Linked DNA regions of Homo sapiens: all the other regions are linked to region 4. The links are contacts of gene promoters, found by promoter capture Hi-C in blood cells and fetal thymus (Javierre and others, 2016). All regions are on one chromosome and are shown on one strand. The core of a region is centred on a gene start or on the middle of the fragment in contact, and the rest is flanking DNA. Distances in the headings are between cores, read along the strand shown.

Region 1 (2,700 bases), core at 150-2,649, 660 kb after region 4:
CACAGACTCTCTGGAGAACAGGCGCAGGCAGGAGAGCCTGCATAAAGACAGGTCATTACAATACCAATAACAAGTGATAAGAGCTTTTGTTGTCCTTGGACTCTGAATTCTCTATCTCTGTCACAGACCAAAGCTTCTGAATCACTTGGAGGACCTGTTAAAAATTCAGGTTTCTCACCCCCCAATCTTAAGGTTTCTGGCTCATTCATTCAATCCACAAATATTTATTGAACACTGTCCTGTGCTGGGCACTTTTCCAGGCACGGGGGATGCAGTAGAACAAAACTTACCAAGGCCCTGTCCTTGCTCAGCTTGCGTTCTAGTAAGTCTGGGCTGGCTGAGCCCAGGAATCTTCATTTCTAATCAGAACTGATACAGGTCGTCCTTGGACCACCCACTGGAGGCTTTTCCTAAGTCATGCTTCGCTGTGTTTGTGGTATGGGGGGTGGTTCATGCAGCATTCAGTACTGTGGGGAGCAGCCCCTTCCAGCCCTTCCCACCTGTGCTGGCTTCCCCAGGCAGCTCCCAAGAGGTGGGGAAGGGAGTCCTGAGAAGACTGAAGACTGGGTAGTATGTGGACTCCCCCCATGCCTGGCACTTGCTCCTCCTGGCCAAAAAAGGGAGGCACCTAGCACCCACTCCCTCATTCTTTTTTTTTTTTTTTTTTTAATTTTTAGAATTTAGAGACAGGGTCTTGCTCTGTCACCCAGGCTGTAGTGCGGTGGCATAATAGCTCACTACAGGAACTTGCGGACTCTAAGGATCCTCCCGCCTCAGCCTCCCAAGTAGCTGGGACTACAGGAGTGCACCACCACTCATGGCCTTTATTTATTTATTTATTTATTTATTTATTTATTTATTTATTTATTTTTTGAGATGGAGTCTCGCTCTGTCTCCCAGGCTGGAGTGCAGTGGCGCAATCTCGGCTCACTGCAAGCTCCGCCTCCCGGGTTCACGCCATTCTCCTGCCTCAACCTCCCAAGTAGCTGGGACTACAGGTGCCCGCCACCACGCCCGGCTAGTTTTCTTTTTATATTCTTAGTAGAGACGGGGTTTCACCGTGTTAGCCAGGATGGTCTTGATCTCCTGACCTCATGATCCGCCCGCCTCAGCCTCCCAAAGTGCTGGGATTACAAGCGTGAGCCACCGCGCCCAGCCTATTTATTTATTTATGGTAGAGACAGTCTCACCATGTTGCCCAGGCTGGTCTTGAACTCCTGGCCTCAAGCGATCCTCCCACCTCGGCCTCCCAAAGTGCTGGGATTCAGATGTGAGCCACCACACCTGGCCTCCCTCATTCTTTTTTTACCGTGACATTCTTTTCACCCTTGGGTTGAAGTCAGTCTAAAGGACAGTGTTCCTCACTTTATATCTGTTTGAGGAGACCTTTCCCAACCCCTGTTTCCACCTCTGTGTCTGCAGCTGCACTGTGTGCAACTGTACCTCCTGCCTCTCTGCCCAGCTTCTTCACAGCATCCATCCACCTGACATTGATCAAGCCTGGTGCTATACCACATTGAGTGTTGGGCACTGGAGCTAGAGAGGTGTGTGGCAGCTCCAGCCTGTAGGACAGGGTGTGGTGACCCTCCTTCTCACATCTAAGCTGTGTGGTTATGGGCACTGCAGGTCTTAGCCTCTCGGAACCTGTGAATCGATCATCTCATCCATTTCTTGCACTCTCTTTGTCTCTCAAGAGTTGTCAGTCTGGGAACCTCGGGCCTTCCTGAGCTGCTCCATCGCACATGGGTGGAGGAGAGGCTGGCAGGGGCCTCTGAGAAGGGGTGTCTCTGGCATCCATGGCCATGGCGTGGTGCCCTCCACTCCTCAGCCCACCCCTGCGTTATGCCTGCAGGTTGCTTCGAGGAGACGCCGTGGTGGAGCTGGGCCTCAACGATTACCTAGACATTGTCTGCCCCCACTACGAAGGCCCAGGGCCCCCTGAGGGCCCCGAGACGTTTGCTTTGTACATGGTGGACTGGCCAGGCTATGAGTCCTGCCAGGCAGAGGGCCCCCGGGCCTACAAGCGCTGGGTGTGCTCCCTGCCCTTTGGCCATGTTCAATTCTCAGAGAAGATTCAGCGCTTCACACCCTTCTCCCTCGGCTTTGAGTTCTTACCTGGAGAGACTTACTACTACATCTGTGAGTGGCCAAGGGCACACTGGACACCTCTTGTGTACCAGAAGGGTAGGGAGGGGGAAGGAGAGGCCTGGAAGGAGGAGGGGGCTGGGTCTCTAATGTACATCGGGTTGAGGTATGGGCTGAACTCAGGACTGAGGAGGGAAATGTCTAGAAAGGAGAAAGTAGGAGGAGCTAGGAAAGGGGGCCAGGGAGATGAGAGGACTGGATGGGGCCTGATACATGGGTGTGGCCCCAAAGTAAGGAAACGCTTTCCAGGGACCTGGAGAGAAGAAAACCTGGGAGGGTCTGAAACAGTCTGAGGCATACAAAGGGGTGACTCCCTGTGCTAACTTTTTCCCACTTTCCCACTACCCAGCGGTGCCCACTCCAGAGAGTTCTGGCCAGTGCTTGAGGCTCCAGGTGTCTGTCTGCTGCAAGGAGAGGAGTAAGTGGGTTGGGAGCATGGACCCTACTGGCTAATGTGGGGCCTTGGGAAGGAGGGAAGGAGTGAGAAGAATCTAGGAGGATCAGACTCCAGGGGTCCTGGTGAAGCTTCAAGCTGTGGTCTCTTCTCCCCATTTA
Region 2 (2,822 bases), core at 175-2,674, 570 kb after region 4:
ACCTATATAACAAACCTGCACATGTACCCTTGAACATGAAACTTAAAATACTGAGAGGAAAAACGGAAGAGGGAATGTTGGGGAAAGCTTCCTAGAGGGCAGAGCCTGAGATGAGACTCTAAGAAAAAGGTATGTGGGAGGAAGCACCTCTTGACTGAAATTGTTTAGAAGACACTGGATAGCCATCTGCCAAGGATGGTGATGATGGAATCCTGGCACTGGATGTGGCATTCGGGCTTGATAAATTTTAAGTGCATAATCTAGATTGGGAATAAGGGAAGACACAGGATTCCACAAATGTTGGCATTATGCTAATCTGTATTAATTGTAATAATTAAGACCACTTCCTGGTTTGTATCTTGTCTCCTCAGTTGGAGAACATAAAATGAAAACTTGCTTTTCTTGTGTCTCTTCACCCAGCCTAGTTCAGGGCTTTGGGTCTTCCAGAGAACTCGATGTGCATTGACAAATACATAATCATCTTTATGCCAAGACGGCTCCAGACCCTCCTTTAATTAACTTTCTTTTCCTCAGCTGTTTTCCTCTACATCTGAACTAAACTAACTTAAAACTGTATGTGCTTATAAGAGATTTGTGGAGCTGGGAAGGAATCACCATTTCATCCCCTGGAAGATGAAACTCTTGGCAGTGGCACTTTGGTTTAAGAGGGGTTTTTTGGTGTATGTATTGAAGCCAAATTTCGTGCCAGGGTGGTGTTAGAATGTGAGCTATTTTCATTATATTTGGACTAGAATTTTTTCTTTTAGGAGAATGGTGGGGAATCACTGTTACTAGCACAGAGGGAGAACTTAGTACATTTTCATTGAGCATGACGAAGACTATGTGGATTAGTTTGATTCACATCAGGGTAATAATTTTTTTGCTATGAAGGGAGACTTATCCTTGGTTAGAAAAGCACGGAATTTACCCAGAAAGTCTCAAGGTACATCCCTCCAGAGTTAGGAAAATAAGATTCAGGATAGATTTAATTTTTTTTTTAAGAGACAAGGTCTTGCTTTGTTGCCCAGACTGGAGTGCAGTGGCTATTCACAGGCACAACCATTGTGCATTGCAGCCCTTTCTTTTTTCTTATTTTTTTTCTCTTTTTTTGAGACGGAATCTCACTCTATCGCCCAGATCTCAGCTCACTGCAACCTCCGCCTCCTGGATTCAAGGGATTCTCTCCTGCCTCAACCTCCCAAATAGCTGGGATTACAGGTGCATGCCACCACACCCGGCTAATTTTTGTATTTTTAGTAGAGACGGGGTTTCACGTTGTTGGTCAGGCTGGTCTCCAACTCCTGACCTCAAGTGATCCACCCACCTCAGCCTCCCAAAGTGCTGGGATTACAGGCATGAGCCACCGCCCCTGGCCTATTTCTTCTGTATTTTAATCAGATTTCAAACTTCATACTGTATCTTTTTCAAACTCCTGGGTTCAAATGACCCTCCTGCCTCAGCCTCCCAAGTAGCTGGGACTGTAGGTTTGTGCCACCATGCCTGGCTTAGATTTTAAAGGACAAGATAGTTCATTTCATCCTTTGTAATAACTTGTCCACACAGTACTTCATAAAAGGCCTTTCCTCGCCACAAAATAACTTCTCTTCCTTCCTTCTAATTATTAACACTGTGTGCTCCGTGGGGCTCCCATTATGTTGTAGATAATCAACTAGAAGACTATAAGGTCCATGAAGGCGGAGAAAATGTGCCTTGAACTTAAGTGCTCATTCACTGGAATTATTCACTAATTTGTATTTTTAATATACTCTCGGAATTTATATAACATAGCCTGTATTTCTAGCTGCTGCTACCCCACAATAAAATTATATAAACTCTGACATCAAAAACCAGTTTTTCTTTCCTTTCTTGGCCTTGTAAACAGGCATTTGTCTAAGAGACTGTATCTGGTACTAACATAAATTCCCCACTTCCCCGTTTCTGTTACAGACATGTCATGCTGCCCAAGGACATAGCCAAGCTGGTCCCTAAAACCCATCTGATGTCTGAATCTGAATGGAGGAATCTTGGCGTTCAGCAGAGTCAGGGATGGGTCCATTATATGATCCATGAACCAGGTCAGTGCACTGGCTAAAAACAACCATATAGAACTGCTACACTGAGAGAATGAAAGAATAAGATTGTATAACCCAAATAGGGAGATAGGAAATGGTTTACTGGTTCCTTCCCCCTCCAGTCGTGGGGGATTTTTTTAAAAAAAAACTAGTGACCAAAAATAAGACTAAAATATCTGGGAAGTTCAGAGACAACCTGTCACTGAAAAACCTCCTGTAATCTTTCATTCAATCAGAGGGTATTCTTTTTAAGGCCACATATAGCCTGATCATAGCCCCTGCCTCATTCTCCATCGAAAACATTCTTGGATGTGTTCTAAATAAGCAAAGGAAAGTATATTTATTGATAAGACACCAGACACCCAGCTGCCAGGCAAAACTAATAAGGGACACCCTGGGGCTGTATAAACATAGCAAAAGAACTGATATTAACAATTCTGTACTTGGCAGACAGTCCAGACTTCTGGGTCTGCTTCTAAGGCCATATGCTTAAGTCTTTATTTAGTTATAAAGATCTGAGTGGGTGATAGCTGGGGAGGTGGTAGTGGAATACACTATAGGTTGTACATAGAATGGTGTGAGCTTGTCTCTTAGATTTCCCTCACTCTTTCAGAACCTCACATCTTGCTGTTCCGGCGCCCACTACCCAAGAAACCAAAGAAATGAAGCTGGCAAGCTACTTTTCAGCCTCAAGCTTTACACAGCTGTCCTTACTTCCTAACATCTTTCTGATAACATTATTATGTTGCC
Region 3 (2,700 bases), core at 148-2,647, 730 kb after region 4:
CCACGTCATGTAAAGTTGACCCGAGAGGGAGGGCAAAAGAGGAAGGCTTGGTGATTCCTGGTAATGTGTTATTTTGAGAAAAAGCTTCGGCAGCACACTCCAGAAAAAAACTTCCCAAACCCTGGGCAACTGAGGTTCTGATGTGGAGCTCTGGATGGAAAGCGTGCTGAAGTCTTGTTAAACTAGCAAGCTTTTGTTTGGAGGTCCACCGCCGAAGGCGCACAGGCCTGTGGGAACACGAGCGTTGAGACTGGGGGCGTCTAGATGATCCAAGGGGTAGGCAGAGTGTGAGCAGCGGCAGGTATCGGGGACACACCCGCGGAGCCCTAGGAAGGGGACTGACCGGGACATGGAAGAGGTCTGGACCAGGGTACTGGGAAGGCGCTCGGAGGAGAGGGGCGCGAGTTCCGGTTCGGCGTCGGAGGGAGGGTGGGGCTTCGGCGCAGTTTCCGGAGGGACGGCCCGAGCGTGCGGGGGCGGAGCCGAGTGCGCGGGGCGGGGCTCCAGAGCCGCAGGTCTGGGCTGCAGTAGGTCCCGGCAACCGCAGGCTCGCGGCGGGCGCTGGGCGCGGGATCCGACTCTAGTCGTAATGGAGGCGGGCGGCTTTCTGGACTCGCTCATTTACGGAGCATGCGTGGTCTTCACCCTTGGCATGTTCTCCGCCGGCCTGTGAGAGTGCGGCCGGGCTGGGTTGGGGAGGACTAGGCAGTCAGGAAAGGAGAGAGAGGGGACAGAGACGTGGCCACAGCACCTGGCTCGTCCGGAACCGGGATCAAAGTGGGATCGGGTCGAGGGGACCGGGGTACAAGGGCGAGGCTGGTCACTAGGCCTGAAGGAGAAGGCAGGATAGCTGGCGGGGGGGAGAGGGGGCGGGGTCTGCGGTGGTCCGGAAAGGATGACAGGCATTGGGCATCCCCCTCTAGCACTCTGCTTCTCCCTTCCCACCCCCACCCCTCCCTTCGGGGCCCCATTACAGCTCGGACCTCAGGCACATGCGAATGACCCGGAGTGTGGACAACGTCCAGTTCCTGCCCTTTCTCACCACGGAAGTCAAGTGAGGGGCCGACGGCTGCGGTAGTGGGAAAGGCTACCAGAGGGAGGTGGGGGCGGGGCAGGAGGAGCAAGAGTGAAAGAGGTTTGGCCGGGCGCGGTGGCTCACGCCTGTAATCCCTGCACTTTGGGAGGCCGAGACGGGCGGATCACGAGGTCAGGAGATCCAGACCATCCTGGCTAACACGGTGAAACCCCGTCTCTACTAAAAATACAAAAAATTAGCCGGGCGTGGTGCCGGGCGCCTGTAGTCCCAGCTACTCGGGAGGCTGAGGCAGGAGAATGGCGTGAACCCAGGAGGCGGAGCTTGCAGTGAGCCGAGATCGTGCCACCGCACTCCAGCCTGGGCGACAGAGCGAGACTACGTCTCAAAAAAAAAAAAAGAGTGAAAGACCCTTTGGGTCCTCCTCTCACACTGAACCCTTTGAGCCATGTCCATCCCCTCCACCCTGCAGCAACCTGGGCTGGCTGAGTTATGGGGCTTTGAAGGGAGACGGGATCCTCATCGTCGTCAACACAGTGGGTGCTGCGCTTCAGACCCTGTATATCTTGGCATATCTGCATTACTGCCCTCGGAAGGTAGAGGCCCTCCCTTGGACCCACCTATCTGCTGCACGCCCTGCCTTGCTGGCAGGGCAAACACTATTTCCTAGAAGACTGTAACAGCTGGCACTGCCACCTTTTCCAGGAAGGCCTCTCCAGCCTTGCAGGTCCCCTTCCTCTATGAAGCCAGCCTTCTGAGATGAACACATTGCCCCCATTTAGGCAAGGCTGGTAGCTCTGCCTAGCCTGAGATGCCTATGCTGCCTGCCCTGGGCTTCAGCCAACAAGCTAAGGGGAAAGGGCTTTTGTCTCTGATATTTCTTTCAGAGCCAGGGCCTGTGGGTGAGAATGAGATGATTAGCTCTGCGTCCCTGCTAAATCACACAAGCATTTATGAAGCTCCTACTGTGTGTGCCAAGCACACAGAAAAAAACACATATTTATCTCCCCCAGAAGTCTCCAGTGTTGTGGGTGGATAAGACTTTCCTATCAAGTTGGTGGTGGGAAAGAAGCTGTGACAGTGCAGTGCTGGAGGCCTAGACAGCTTGGCTTCCCCATTGGAGCACTGGAGAAGGCAGGATGAATTAACTCTAGCAGGGAAGTCAGAGTGCACATCTGGAAGTAAGGGTACTCTCTCCCCTGCAGCGTGTTGTGCTCCTACAGACTGCAACCCTGCTAGGGGTCCTTCTCCTGGGTTATGGCTACTTTTGGCTCCTGGTACCCAACCCTGAGGCCCGGCTTCAGCAGTTGGGCCTCTTCTGCAGTGTCTTCACCATCAGCATGTACCTCTCACCACTGGCTGACTTGGTGAGTGGGGGTGTCCAAGGAGGTAGGAGAGATAAGAGTCAGGCTCTCATAGCCAAATACTATGGCTTACAGTCCCGAGGAAGGGGAGATCCAAACCCTGGAAGAAGACAAGGCAGTAGAAGTGGGCGAGTGGGAGGCAGGAAAGGTTGGGTGACAGATCAGGGAGGGTGTCTGACCTTTTTCTTGAGGAAATTCTTAGGCAAGTGAAGCTTTACGATGTGCTTGGGCCAAGAGAGTCTTCCATTCTTTCCCACAGGCTAAGGTGATTCAAACTAAATCAACCCAATGTCTCTCCTACCC
Region 4 (2,700 bases), core at 80-2,579:
CTCAGCCTAAACTTTATTTCAGCATTTTTCTTTCCCTCCAGATTCAGCTATGAGGCCATCCTATCAGCTTTAGGCTCTGTGGGGGTCCTTGAGAGAGTTCCCCTCCAAGGGACGGACAGATGGTCCCCTTCAAGGTCCTTGTGGTTGCTCAAAAGCCAGGTGCTTGTTTCTTTCTTTTTTTCTCTCCTTCCTTTCCTTCCTTCCCCTCTATCCCTCCTTCCCTCCCTCCCTCCCTCCTCCCTTCCTTTTCTTTCTTTCTTTTCTTTTTTTTTTTTTCTTTCCAGACAGGGTCTCACTGTCATCCAGGCTGGAGTAGCAGCCCCCAATCACGGCTCACTGTACCCTGGATCTCCCGGACTCAAGCAATTTTCCCACCTCAGCTTCCCTAGTAGCTGGGACTATAGGTGTGTACCACCACACCCAGCTAATTTTTAAATTTTTTTATAGAAATGGGGGTCTCACTTTGTTACACAGGCTGGTCTAGAATTCCTGGACTGAAGCAATCCACCCACCCGGCTCTCCCAAAGTGTTGGGGTTACAGGCGTGAGCCACTGCCCCTGGTGTTAGTGTCTGTCTGTCAAGTCAGGAGGGCAGCCATGAACGTTCTGATGTCTACTGAGCACGTGTGGCCCAGACCGTGTGTCAGGTGTTTAGGTGCCATCCACAGAACCTTCCTAATAACCCTGGGCAGCATAGGCTTTCTTATCTCTGACAGATGAGGAAATGGAGACTCAGATTCTGAACCGAAGTCACAGACACAGTAGATGGTAGGTCTAAATGGGGACCCAGGTCTATCTGACTGCAAAGTCCAAACCGTTTCCTTGCCTCTGCTGCAGCCTGCGAGGAGCAGCTGGGCAGAAAGACTGTGCCTTTACGGTGGTGAGTCTTCCGATGCCCAAGCCTCACCCCAGACCGATGAAATCAGAATCTCTGGAGACCCGACCCAGACATTGGTGGGTTTTAGGGCTCCTGGCTGATTCCAGTGGGCAACCGGGCTACCAAGCACTGTTTTACCCTAAGGGTAAGAGGAACATCGCCTCCTCGAGGGCTCTCCAGGTGTGCCTTTCACAGCGTAATCCCGTTCACGAAACCAAAAATCAAAACTAGGCCACTGCCCACTGGTGGCTGATACGCCCTTTTCTCATCAACAGAACCGGGAGGAAGGGCTCTGGTGGGGCTGGCGGTCCCCTGTTCTCCCCGCTCAGGTGCGGCGCTGTGGCAGGAAGCCACCCCCTCGGTCGGCCGGTGCGCGGGGCTGTTGCGCCATCCGCTCCGGCTTTCGTAACCGCACCCTGGGACGGCCCAGAGACGCTCCAGCGCGAGTTCCTCAAATGTTTTCCTGCGTTGCCAGGACCGTCCGCCGCTCTGAGTCATGTGCGAGTGGGAAGTCGCACTGACACTGAGCCGGGCCAGAGGGAGAGGAGCCGAGCGCGGCGCGGGGCCGAGGGACTCGCAGTGTGTGTAGAGAGCCGGGCTCCTGCGGATGGGGGCTGCCCCCGGGGCCTGAGCCCGCCTGCCCGCCCACCGCCCCGCCCCGCCCCTGCCACCCCTGCCGCCCGGTTCCCATTAGCCTGTCCGCCTCTGCGGGACCATGGAGTGGTAGCCGAGGAGGAAGCATGCTGGCCGTCGGCTGCGCGCTGCTGGCTGCCCTGCTGGCCGCGCCGGGAGCGGCGCTGGCCCCAAGGCGCTGCCCTGCGCAGGGTAAGGGCTTCGGGCGCACCTGGAGGGCTGGGGCAGCTAGCGGCTGGGGGAAACCGCCTTGGTCACCGCAGTCTGTGGGAGGCTGGAGGGAGGAAAGGAGGTGCGACGGATCCCCTTTTCTGTGGCTGCCTTGAGGCCCCGCGGGTACCTAGCTGTGTGGTCGCGGGTAGTGGCTCTTGCGCCCCCTGCTGCGCTTGCTCCCTTGGTCCGGAGCGCTCCCCGGAATGCCCGGTGAAGCTGTGCGGGAACCCTGCGGTCTGTGTACAGGACTGTGTCCTTGCAAACCTGACTCTCGAGCTTCCTTCCCAGTGCCCCCAGGAGCCTTTACACAACCGCGTCCCAGGTTACTCTAAGGGGAGACTGCCCGAGAGGGCGCGCCCCAGCGGGGTGATGTACCCGCCTGGGGAGTCCTTTGTACCAGCGCCCCTCTTCTCCCTCTGCATTGGGGGTCCACCTCGCCTGGTCCTCCCCCCACCCCCGCGGGTGCATGTGTGGATGACAGTGCCCTGACTATGAAGGGACTGACATCACGGGCGCTGAGTCACGGATCTTCCCGCTGCACGGAGTCACTTTGGCAGCCACCAACTCTGGGAAGCCAAGTGCCCCAGTCCTGGGAATTGAGTCGGGAGGCTGGCAAGGGAGTGAGACCTCCTGGGGCTGGCACGTGCTGGACTCCCCTCTAGAAAAGAGAAGGACCCGTGAGGGAGAGGGCAGAGGCACTTACTGCTCCCGTTGACTGTAATCTGCCCCTGGCAAACCAGGCTTTTCTTGGGCTCTGGCCGCATGCCCAGCTGCGTGTCTAGTCTCTCTTCTGGAAGAGTTGGGCAACTGGCTCTCCAGAGGTTTATTTTAGGGTCCCAGTGCTTCTTTGAGGACACAGCAGAAAACTAAGGGGCAGCTGACAGGCTTCTGGAACAGCTGACAGGCTGGGGAGGCTGAAGGCTAAGACTTTCAACCACTAGATCACACTGAATTCCAGTCCTAGGTGAACACTGATCT
Region 5 (2,716 bases), core at 193-2,692, 550 kb after region 4:
GGACCCTGGGGAGCATACATATCCTCAACCCCTAAGCACCCTACCCAGCAGTGACAGCGGCTCATTCCAGCCTTTTCACACAGCAACAGCAAGGAGTCCTTGTCTGGGATTTTAAAATCATTTTATTAATCCAACAGTACAAAAGACCCCCACCACCACCGCATTCTGCCATCACTTTGTTCCAAAAAGTAGTGGAGTGAGAGAGCGAGAGGGAGCAGATCCAGCAAAAACACTCCCCCAGGGGCCATTTTACAAAATGCGGAGCAGGGGAAGACAACACAAAAACAGCAACAGATAAATGGGGCAAACAGAACAACAAACACAAGAGTTGAGCAGCGGGGTGGGGGTGGGGGGTTGCCATCTACGCCGTTTTAGTGTGAGGGACACTGGGAACGATGCCCAGAGGCTGCTCTCCTCCCAGCCTCAAAGGTTGTCAGCTCCACCAGAGCAGGGTCTTCTCTCCTCATGCCAGGAACTGAGAGAAGTGGGGGTAGGGGACCACTAGGTCTTTGCCACTGTATCTTGAGCTGGGGGACTCCTAACTTCTCCGAGGGCCACACCCCATGCCTGCCTTCCCCACCCCATGGAGGAATGTGTGCATGAACAGAAAAGGAGAACGAGCAGCGCTAAGGTCCTCATCAGGCCCCAGGCCCATCTCTGGCAGGCAGTGCTTAAAAAATAAAAAAAGACAAATAAAGCCCAGTGCAGGCCTTTGGCTGAGAGGAATGAGAATTGCTAATTAATCACCAGGCCCAAGAGGATATGAAAGAATAGCAAAGAGAAGCAACAAACTCCAGGCTCTTCTACCTTTGAGTACCATGGCAATGAGGATCCCGCCGCATCCCCTACCCACAGGCTGTGACAGGGCCTCACTTGGATCCTTTTATCATGGAGGAAATGAGGTATAGGGCTCTGCGCCTTTTCAAGCTTTCCTTCAATCAAGCCAGGAAGGCAGGGGAATAAGGGCGCCGAAAGTTGAAGAACACACGGAGTATAATGTGCAACAGATGGGCTGGGGGAGGAGGGTACCACCAAAGTCCAGACTTTCAGGACAGCCCAAACTTCAAATATTCTGGTCTGTCAGATAACATATCCCAATTTTTGGCAAAAATATGGTCATTAGGAGAAAAGCACGAGAGAGGCTGAGAAAGGACCAGTGACTTTGGTATGAAGAAGATACGTCCTGACAGCATCTCTCACCTACTGTCTTGAAGCCCCAAATCACCAAGAAACTGCCATAACCAGGAACTCTCCTGCTTCCTCAGGCTATTTGGTTCTCTGAGGGGGAAGGAGTTGGGTAAGTCTTGGAGGAAGCAAAGGAGTGGGTAGAAAAAGGGGAAAATCCCCATTTATTCCCTAAAGCTGTCTCCCAGAGCCCATAAAAGGGCTATTGCAGGGATGGCAAGACCCCAATTCCTCTGGCCAGAAACCTTTAACACTTGACTCCAAAAACTAAGGCTGGAGCTGTGGGGTTCAGTAGGGGTGTTAGGCACAGGTGTTAGGGGCATCCATCATCAGCAGAGGGAACACCCCTGCCCTCCGGATCTTCCTCCAGCCCCTTTTCTCTTGCAGCCACACTCCTGGGCCTCCAGAAATAGCCACAAAATGGCTCTGCTCAGCAGGGCTTTGGTTTCCTGGATCTCTGTAGATCTCAACATGTAAGTTTCCCAAAACAGTGAGCAATCCAGGCTCTTCTGCCTGCCCACCTCAATTCCTTTTCTGCTCCCAGGAGCCACTGTTTCTGCCCCATGGGGATGGAAAGCCAGTGGAAACAAGGACCAAGAGCCAAACATCAAAAAAATCACCCTGGAAGAGCAGGGAGAGACATGTGCACTTCCCTGGGCCACTTCACCAGCGTCACCCATCGTTAGCAGCCACCAGCTGCCCCATGCCCTCACGGATGTAGACAGACTGGATCTCCTTGGTCTTGAGGCAGAGATCGCAGGCCCAGACGGCAGAAGCTTCAGTGGTCAGCAGCCCATAGGCGCTCTCAGTCATGCCTGTGCACTCACGGTGGAACCATTTCTGGCAGGAGGCCTCACACAGAATGGCATCCTGGTCATCGTTCACCTCACTCCGACAGGCACCACATGGGTACACCAAGCCTGGGGGAGGCTGGGGCCCGGAGCCCCCACCTGCCTTGCCAGGGGGTGCCAAGCTGTTGGCATCTGGAGTGCCCCCACCCCGCCCACTGCTGTTCGGGGGGAAACTGGGCTGGTTCCCATTAACAGCAGCAGCCGGGGAGCCTGAGTGGGGCTCCTGGGGAAAAGCAGTAGAAGCAGGTGGATTCAAGGGCTTCCCCCCATCCTCACCACCAGGGCCAGGAAAGCCAGGGTCCGGACCAGGAAAGGGACTTGTGTTAGGCGGCAGGCTGGGGAGCCCCTGACCAGGTCTCTGGAGAGGAGAAGGGCCAAAAGGAGCCCCTGGCTGAGCAAATCGTTGGGACAGAGAAGGTGGGCCCAGCTCTGCTCTGGGAGGCTGTCCCATGGTGGGTGAGATCATGGGACCAAATCCCCCCACTGGGCCCGGCATCATCTGCCCACTGGGAGGACTAAAGTTTTGACCCAGAGGCTGGTTGAAGGGTTGGCTGGGAAAGTTCATGTTGCCTGGGGGTGGGTAGCCAGGACCCTGGGGGGGCATGTTGAAAGCAGGGCCCATAGGATTGGGAGGGAAGGGGGGTGGCTGTCGACGGAGTGGCTGGGGGCCCCCTCCACCT
Region 6 (2,700 bases), core at 10-2,509, 610 kb after region 4:
GGGGAGAGGCACTCCCCCCCTCCTATTCCCTTCCCCCCACCCCAACTCCCCCACCTCGGGTGTAAGCGACAGGAAGAAATAATAATAATTTAAGATTCACACTTGTGTCCACTTTTGGTTTATTTGGGGGGTGGGTGGGAAGGATCAGGAAGAGAGGGAGGTGAGAGAGGGACTGAGGGTTCTGAAGCTGGAGTGGGGGCTCCTTTAGTGGCGGAGGATGTCTCAGGTGGTCTGTGGGGCTCAGGGCTGGTGAGAATGCTGACAGGCTGATGGGCTTCAGGTAAGGGCTGCTGCCCGTGCTTCCTCTGCTGAGGCCCCTTCTCCTCATCCAGGTCACTAGTGAGGAGAGGAAGGGGGTGGCCGGATCACCCACCTTCTGTCTTCACAGGTGCATCCCTGCCCCCTGCCCTGCCCCATCTGTTCAGATCCAGCTCCTGTTCTTTCTGAGCAACTCCTGCTCTCTCAGGCCCACGAGGCGTACCAGCCCATGGCTGTAGATATTTTCTGATTTTAGGCTGATGCTGGGGGGTGGGCAGTGACTTGCCTGAGGCCACATGGCTAGGAAGGGCAGAATCACTAGTGACCTCAGTAGTCACACCTGCTCAAGGCTCAAGCTGTCCCCTCTGCTGACCCAGCTTATCCTTTCACTGGGCCCTCTAGAACCTCTGAAAAGAAAGCTTTGCTTCCCCTTCAACCTCTTGACTCATCATGACCTCTACCGCCCCATTCACACTGGAATGTGCCCACTGGACAGTTTTCTTTGCAGTCCTCCCAAGAGGAGGCAGCTTAACCTTCTCAAACCCAGCTGGCCCGTAGTGTTTTTTTGCAAAGCCCCTGGCTGCCATGATAGCTGTACCACCAGTGCTGTGGCTGTCTCCTCAGGCCTGCCAGACACCTGCCACATCTGTTTAAGATGCCGGCTCTGGACTCCTGCTGTTTGTATGGTCCTGCAACCTCGTCGCTAGAGGACCCACCCAATTCTCTGGCCTCTCAATCCCTAACCTCCTTGGTTCTATTGACCGTCATCTCTGTTCCCACTCAGACGTCTTCCTCAGCCTTGGCCTTTCACTGGATTCATTCCAGAGTTCTTCCCTGGCCATGGCCCCCTCTCTGAGTCCCTCCTGTTCAGCCAGCTCTCCCTCCTGGCCACTGCCCCTGCTCTAACACGTCATCAAGACAGAGACCCTGGGCTGCCCCCAGGGGCCTTAGCCCCTCCTCTTCCCCAGTCATCTCAGACACTCTTACCAAAGACACCTCAATTCTCACTCCATCTTGTCCTCCTGACCTGCCCAGAAAAAGCCCTCCACCTGTGAATCCTATTCATGGCTACCACATTTGCCAGAGAAAATCACATAACTGAGCGCACTGGAGCAATCATTACAAGTTACAGCTTCCAGCATCATCTGGGCCTTTGACGCTACCTGGAAATCCCTTAACCTCCCTAGTCGGCTTCTTTGCACACTTGCCACGGCAGGTCTTTCAACCTCTACCACCCACTCCTTGAAACCTTTATTCCACTCCCAGCTGCCTGCTCTGCTCTCTCAGCAGGTGCTCTTGCCTCCTACTCCCCAAAGAGAAGCGAGGCCACCAGGCTGGAGTGGGCTCAGCTGCTCAGGGGAACCTATACTCTCCCCCTCTGCCTCTGCCAGCCTGCTCCTTTCTCAGGCAGGCCACCTGGTCCACCTGGCCCTGGAGCCCAAACCTCCCTCCCCAACGTGCTTTTACACTGCCTAAATGCTCAAATCTTCCTGTTCTTAGATCTAGAAAACCCTTTTAGTGCTGAATCCCCTTCAAGCTACTTTCTTGCTCTGTGAAGCTAACTCTCTCTTTCTCTTCACCATCAAGCTTACATTTTTTTCAAACTACAGCACTCATTAGATTAAAAGCATTATCAAACTCCTGGCAACAGTGATGCAGGAGCCACATACCATATTTCTGAGTCCTTTTATTATTTATTTATTTTGAGACAGAGTCTTGCTCTGTCGCCCAGGCTGGAGTGCAGTGGCACGATCTCGGCTCACTGCAACTTCCGCCTCCCGCGTTCAAGTGATTCTTCTGCCTCAGCCTCCCAAGTAGCTGGGATTACAGGCGCCTGCCACCATGCCTAATTTTTTGTATTTTTAGTAGAGACAAGGTTTTACCATGTTGGCCAGGCTGGTTTCAAACTCCTGACCTCAAGTGATCTGCCCGCCTCAGCCTCCCAAAGTGCTAGGATTACAGGCGTGAGCCACCACACCCAGCCTTTCTGAGTCTTCTTTACCTGACACCCCTCAACCCATCATGACAGATCCAGTTTTGGTCTTCCCGATGCCATGAAAAATATTCCCACAAGCTACTCCAGTGATGTCTTAACTGCCTGTCACCTGTCTTCACATGATCCTACTTGATTTTTTTTTTTTTAATCTTCTAATTTTTTGAGACTGGGTCTTGTACTATTGCCCAGGCTGGAGTGCAGTGGTGCAATCTTGGCTCACCGCAGTCTCAGCCTCCCTGGCTCAAGTGATCCCTCCCACCTTAGCCTCCTGAAAGCTGGGACTAAAGATGCACGCCACCATGCCCAGCTAATTTTTGTATTATTACCTATTTATTTATTGAGACCAATCCTCCCTCTGTCACCCAGGCTAAAATGCGGTGGCACAATCTTAGCTCCCTGCAACCTCCACCTCCCAGGTTCAATCAATTCTCCTGCCTTAGCCTCCT
Region 7 (2,732 bases), core at 4-2,503, 600 kb after region 4:
CATCCAGGCACCCCTCGCCACCTGGGTCTCTCAGCGAATTCATGTCAAGCTATCCCTCCTCGGTGGAGACTCAGTTTCTCCACTTAGGGAACCCGCGGGATGGAGGTGGGGAGCAAAAGCGTCGGCGCGCCCCCTCCCCCTTCGCAGACTGGGCCCCTCCCCTCCGACAATGCCAAGGCCGCAGCGGGCACTGGCGACAGCACAGAGGCTGCTTGCCTGGGGCGCCCTTCCCTCCCCGCGGGGCACCGTCACGCGTGGGGAGGGACGCAGGGCGCCCGCAGGCTCAACTCCCCGGCTCCCTCCGAGAGGGGGTGGGGCGTAGGGGCCGGAGCCGAAGGCCTGGTGGCTCCCCCTCCCCCTCCCTTCTAGGTCCCTGACCTGATTACAGCCCCTCACGGGACCCCCTCCCTCAAGACCCTAAGTCCCCAATTCACCCCCACCCAGCCTATCCCTAACCTCTCATACCCTTCCCTCCTGAGGTCCTGACCCTACAGAAGCCCCTCTTGAAGGAGAGGGAGCCCCTGTAGGGGGTGCTCGATTCCCTGGCCGCTGCGGACACTGCCCCCTCCCCCCTCCTCTCCAGGTTCCAGGCCAGCCCCTCGGCTCCGCCCCCTCCCTGGACGAACGCAAGGCGAGACCTACTGGAGATGAGCGGGTATTCAGGCCAATGAGCGGACAGGGCGGTGGCGTGCAGGGGGCGGGCAGAGCAGCAGCAAAGGGCTGGATGGGGGCCGGGGGCGGAGTTTGAGTTAAGGTGGACTGGGAGAGATAGGGGCAGGAGAAAGGGGGGGGAGAGAGGGACCGCGGCAGGTGAAGGGAGACAGAGAGAAGGAAAGAAGGAGGGAAAGGAGGAGGGTGGGAAAGGCTAGGAGAGCTAAGTAAGAGTTTGGAGAAGGGGGCAAAAAAGGAGGGAGGGACCCATCTGCGCTCTGCAGGGACTGGCTGGACGAAGGGGTTGAAGTTTATGTCCTTATTGGGCGGAGGGAGGGGGCCTGGGGGGGCGGGTGAAAAACCAGGAAGTGACAGAGGGTGTTTCTAAGTGTTGGGGGGGGGGAGTTTGGGGGGTGGCAGGGGCGGGGGGAGGGAGGGGAGGGATGGGGGGAAAGCAAGCTGGAGGACAGGTGAGACAGCAGGACAGGTGAGGCGGGCCCTGAGGGGGGGGCGGGTGGGAGCCAGGTGAATGTACGGCTCTTGGCGGCCGAGGGGGGGCGGGCGGCAGGAGGAGGCAGAGGGCGGCGGAGGAGGAGCCCCCCAGCAGCGAGCGGCGAGCAACTGACCGCGGCCTTCTGACCAGGACCGGAGCAGGGCCCCAAGCCCCCGGGCCTGGTGGGGGACGCGCTTCTTCCCACACTGTGAGCCTCAGCAGCTCCAGCCAGCGGACCCGACGGCTGAGAGGTGAGTGTACCCCACTTTTGTCTCCTGGCTCGGGGTTCACTAGGCTCGAGACTACTGCAGTGTCCTTCGTCCGTCCTGTAAGTGGGACCCCCAGATACACACGCATGCAGATCACATTCCCACCACTCCCCTTCCCTGTGCTTTCCCAACACCCCGGGTCTCTGGAATTGGTTTTAACTGAGATGAAAGACAGAGAAGGAACTGCGGATGCCCCCCAACCCTAGGCGGAGGGTCCCCAGAAAGTTTATCTGCACTTCTCCTGGGATCAGACAGACAGACGGCTTCGGGATGGAGAGGGGGTGAGGCGACGCTGAGCGTTCCCCCAGTCTCCTTCGTGACTTTAGGGGGAGACCCCAGACCGGACTGAGTTGAGGGAATGGAAACGCTGACGGACTCTAACTAGGACAACGCGCACCCCCCCCCCACCCCGCGCCCCCTGGCGCGGTGGATTGGCCCCAGGCCAGTTGCATGGGGGTTGGGGGGGCGCAGGAGGAGCCGCGGCTTGGGGGAAAGTTACCGGCTGGACTATTCGGTTTCTTGCGCTTCCAGAGCCGCGCTCTCTCCAGCGGTAGTGGGGCTCAGCAACAACCTCTGAACCGACATAGAACGACCGCTCTCTTCCCTGCCCCTCAATCCCACTCCCTTCCTTCAGGCTCCAGTCCCGCCGCTACCTTTTCCACGCCAGCTCATGACCACAGAACCCAAGAGCGAGGGCGGGTGACTAGGAAGAATTCTCCTACCTACTACCCGTCCCCCCACCGGCGCCGGCGCACCTGCCCCAGCCCAGAGTGGGGGTCGCTACTGTGTTGTTGTAGAACCTACAGAGTGCGCCTGGCAGAAGGCTGCCATTCAAAGGGGTGGGGGGCGCTGCTTTCAATTTCCAGCTTTCTCTCCCTCCTCCCACCCCATCCCAAGTAAGAGAGCGACGTGTCCCGGCCAGAGCGAGGTGGGGGCGGGAGTGGGGGGGCGGCGTGGGCAGCGGGTTGTGCCCGGACACGTGCCTGCCCAGGCGCCCCGGCCCTGCTGGTGTTTAGAGAGAGGGCGGGTCCCCTGCCCCCCGCCCCGCACAACCCCCACGTATCAAAGGGCGGCTGAGACATGGTGAGACCTCGGGGCGCCCTGGGGGGCAGGGGGGCGGGGAGCCTGGGTCCGGAGCAGGGGAGGGGCAGAGGCGCCGGTGCTAGCTGACCCACAGGAAACGAGCGCTGCTGACCTAGTTTGGGACACCGGAAGTGGGTGCTGGGGAGAGGGGGAGACCGGCAGGCTGTCCAGGCTTCCGGGCCAGGTGGAGGGTGTTCTTGAATTGACCCCCGCCCGAATGCCTTGGAGACCCCTAG

What was found. The method cuts DNA at HindIII sites, captures the fragments that hold promoters and counts their contacts. A CHiCAGO score of 5 or more calls a contact.
Region 1: a fragment that was not itself captured here is called in contact with the fragment with the promoter of IL6R in region 4 in 3 of 17 cell types (activated CD4 T cells, non-activated CD4 T cells and naive CD4 T cells); the score reaches 6.5 in activated CD4 T cells.
Region 2: a contact is called between a fragment that was not itself captured here and the fragment with the promoter of IL6R in region 4, in 1 of 17 cell types (activated CD4 T cells). The highest score is 5.8, in activated CD4 T cells.
Region 3: a contact is called between a fragment that was not itself captured here and the fragment with the promoter of IL6R in region 4, in 1 of 17 cell types (activated CD4 T cells). The highest score is 5.9, in activated CD4 T cells.
Region 5: a fragment that was not itself captured here is called in contact with the fragment with the promoter of IL6R in region 4 in 1 of 17 cell types (non-activated CD4 T cells); the score reaches 7.1 in non-activated CD4 T cells.
Region 6: a contact is called between a fragment that was not itself captured here and the fragment with the promoter of IL6R in region 4, in 2 of 17 cell types (activated CD4 T cells and naive CD4 T cells). The highest score is 5.7, in activated CD4 T cells.
Region 7: the fragment with the promoter of ZBTB7B here is called in contact with the fragment with the promoter of IL6R in region 4 in 2 of 17 cell types (non-activated CD4 T cells and naive CD4 T cells); the score reaches 8.2 in non-activated CD4 T cells.

The regions. Positions count from the first base shown.
Region 1 is chr1:155,064,878-155,067,577 of GRCh38, forward strand. All of the region lies in intron 1 of EFNA4-EFNA3 (EFNA4-EFNA3 readthrough), which reads left to right. It overlaps EFNA4 (ephrin A4), which reads left to right. Exons shown (of 4, transcript NM_005227.3): 2 at 1,853-2,139; 3 at 2,495-2,563. It overlaps ADAM15-EFNA4 (ADAM15-EFNA4 readthrough), which reads left to right. Exons shown (of 26, transcript NR_176418.1): 24 at 1,853-2,139; 25 at 2,495-2,563. Among named protein-coding and RNA genes, the nearest start is that of DCST1-AS1, 2.2 kb to the left of the region's middle. RefSeq lists an enhancer at 1-315. The HindIII fragment of the contact is 2,537 bases long and covers 132-2,668 here.
Region 2 is chr1:154,976,040-154,978,861 of GRCh38, forward strand. CKS1B (CDC28 protein kinase regulatory subunit 1B) reads left to right here. Exons shown (of 3, transcript NM_001826.3): 2 at 1,948-2,075; 3 at 2,686-2,822. The coding sequence ends at 2,738. Among named protein-coding and RNA genes, the nearest start is that of MIR4258, 1.8 kb to the left of the region's middle. The HindIII fragment of the contact is 2,679 bases long and covers 86-2,764 here.
Region 3 is chr1:155,135,323-155,138,022 of GRCh38, forward strand. SLC50A1 (solute carrier family 50 member 1) reads left to right here and starts at 530. Exons shown (of 6, transcript NM_018845.4): 1 at 530-669; 2 at 977-1,054; 3 at 1,506-1,629; 4 at 2,239-2,400; 5 at 2,657-2,700. The coding sequence starts at 590. RefSeq lists an enhancer at 1-60 and a silencer at 331-570. The HindIII fragment of the contact is 2,419 bases long and covers 189-2,607 here.
Region 4 is chr1:154,404,014-154,406,713 of GRCh38, forward strand. IL6R (interleukin 6 receptor) reads left to right here and starts at 1,330. Exons shown (of 10, transcript NM_000565.4): 1 at 1,330-1,701. The coding sequence starts at 1,617. IL6R-AS1 (IL6R antisense RNA 1) reads right to left here and starts at 2,551. Exons shown (of 2, transcript NR_147855.1): 1 at 2,426-2,551. RefSeq lists silencers at 1,135-1,264, 1,465-1,614 and an enhancer at 1,854-2,460. The HindIII fragment of the contact is 4,036 bases long and covers 1-2,700 here.
Region 5 is chr1:154,956,922-154,959,637 of GRCh38, forward strand. PYGO2 (pygopus family PHD finger 2) reads right to left here. Exons shown (of 3, transcript NM_138300.4): 3 at 105-2,716. The coding sequence ends at 1,858. Among named protein-coding and RNA genes, the nearest start is that of PBXIP1, 2.2 kb to the left of the region's middle. RefSeq lists an enhancer at 2,364-2,716. The HindIII fragment of the contact is 1,034 bases long and covers 926-1,959 here.
Region 6 is chr1:155,018,425-155,021,124 of GRCh38, forward strand. It overlaps ZBTB7B (zinc finger and BTB domain containing 7B), which reads left to right. Exons shown (of 3, transcript NM_001256455.2): 3 at 1-99. It overlaps DCST2 (DC-STAMP domain containing 2), which reads right to left. Exons shown (of 15, transcript NM_144622.3): 15 at 103-336. The coding sequence ends at 120. Among named protein-coding and RNA genes, the nearest start is that of DCST2, 14 kb to the right of the region's middle. The HindIII fragment of the contact is 1,168 bases long and covers 676-1,843 here.
Region 7 is chr1:155,001,549-155,004,280 of GRCh38, forward strand. It overlaps ZBTB7B (zinc finger and BTB domain containing 7B), which reads left to right and starts at 1,254. Exons shown (of 3, transcript NM_001256455.2): 1 at 1,254-1,395. RefSeq lists silencers at 153-392, 503-692, 2,403-2,522. The HindIII fragment of the contact is 14,435 bases long and covers 1-2,732 here.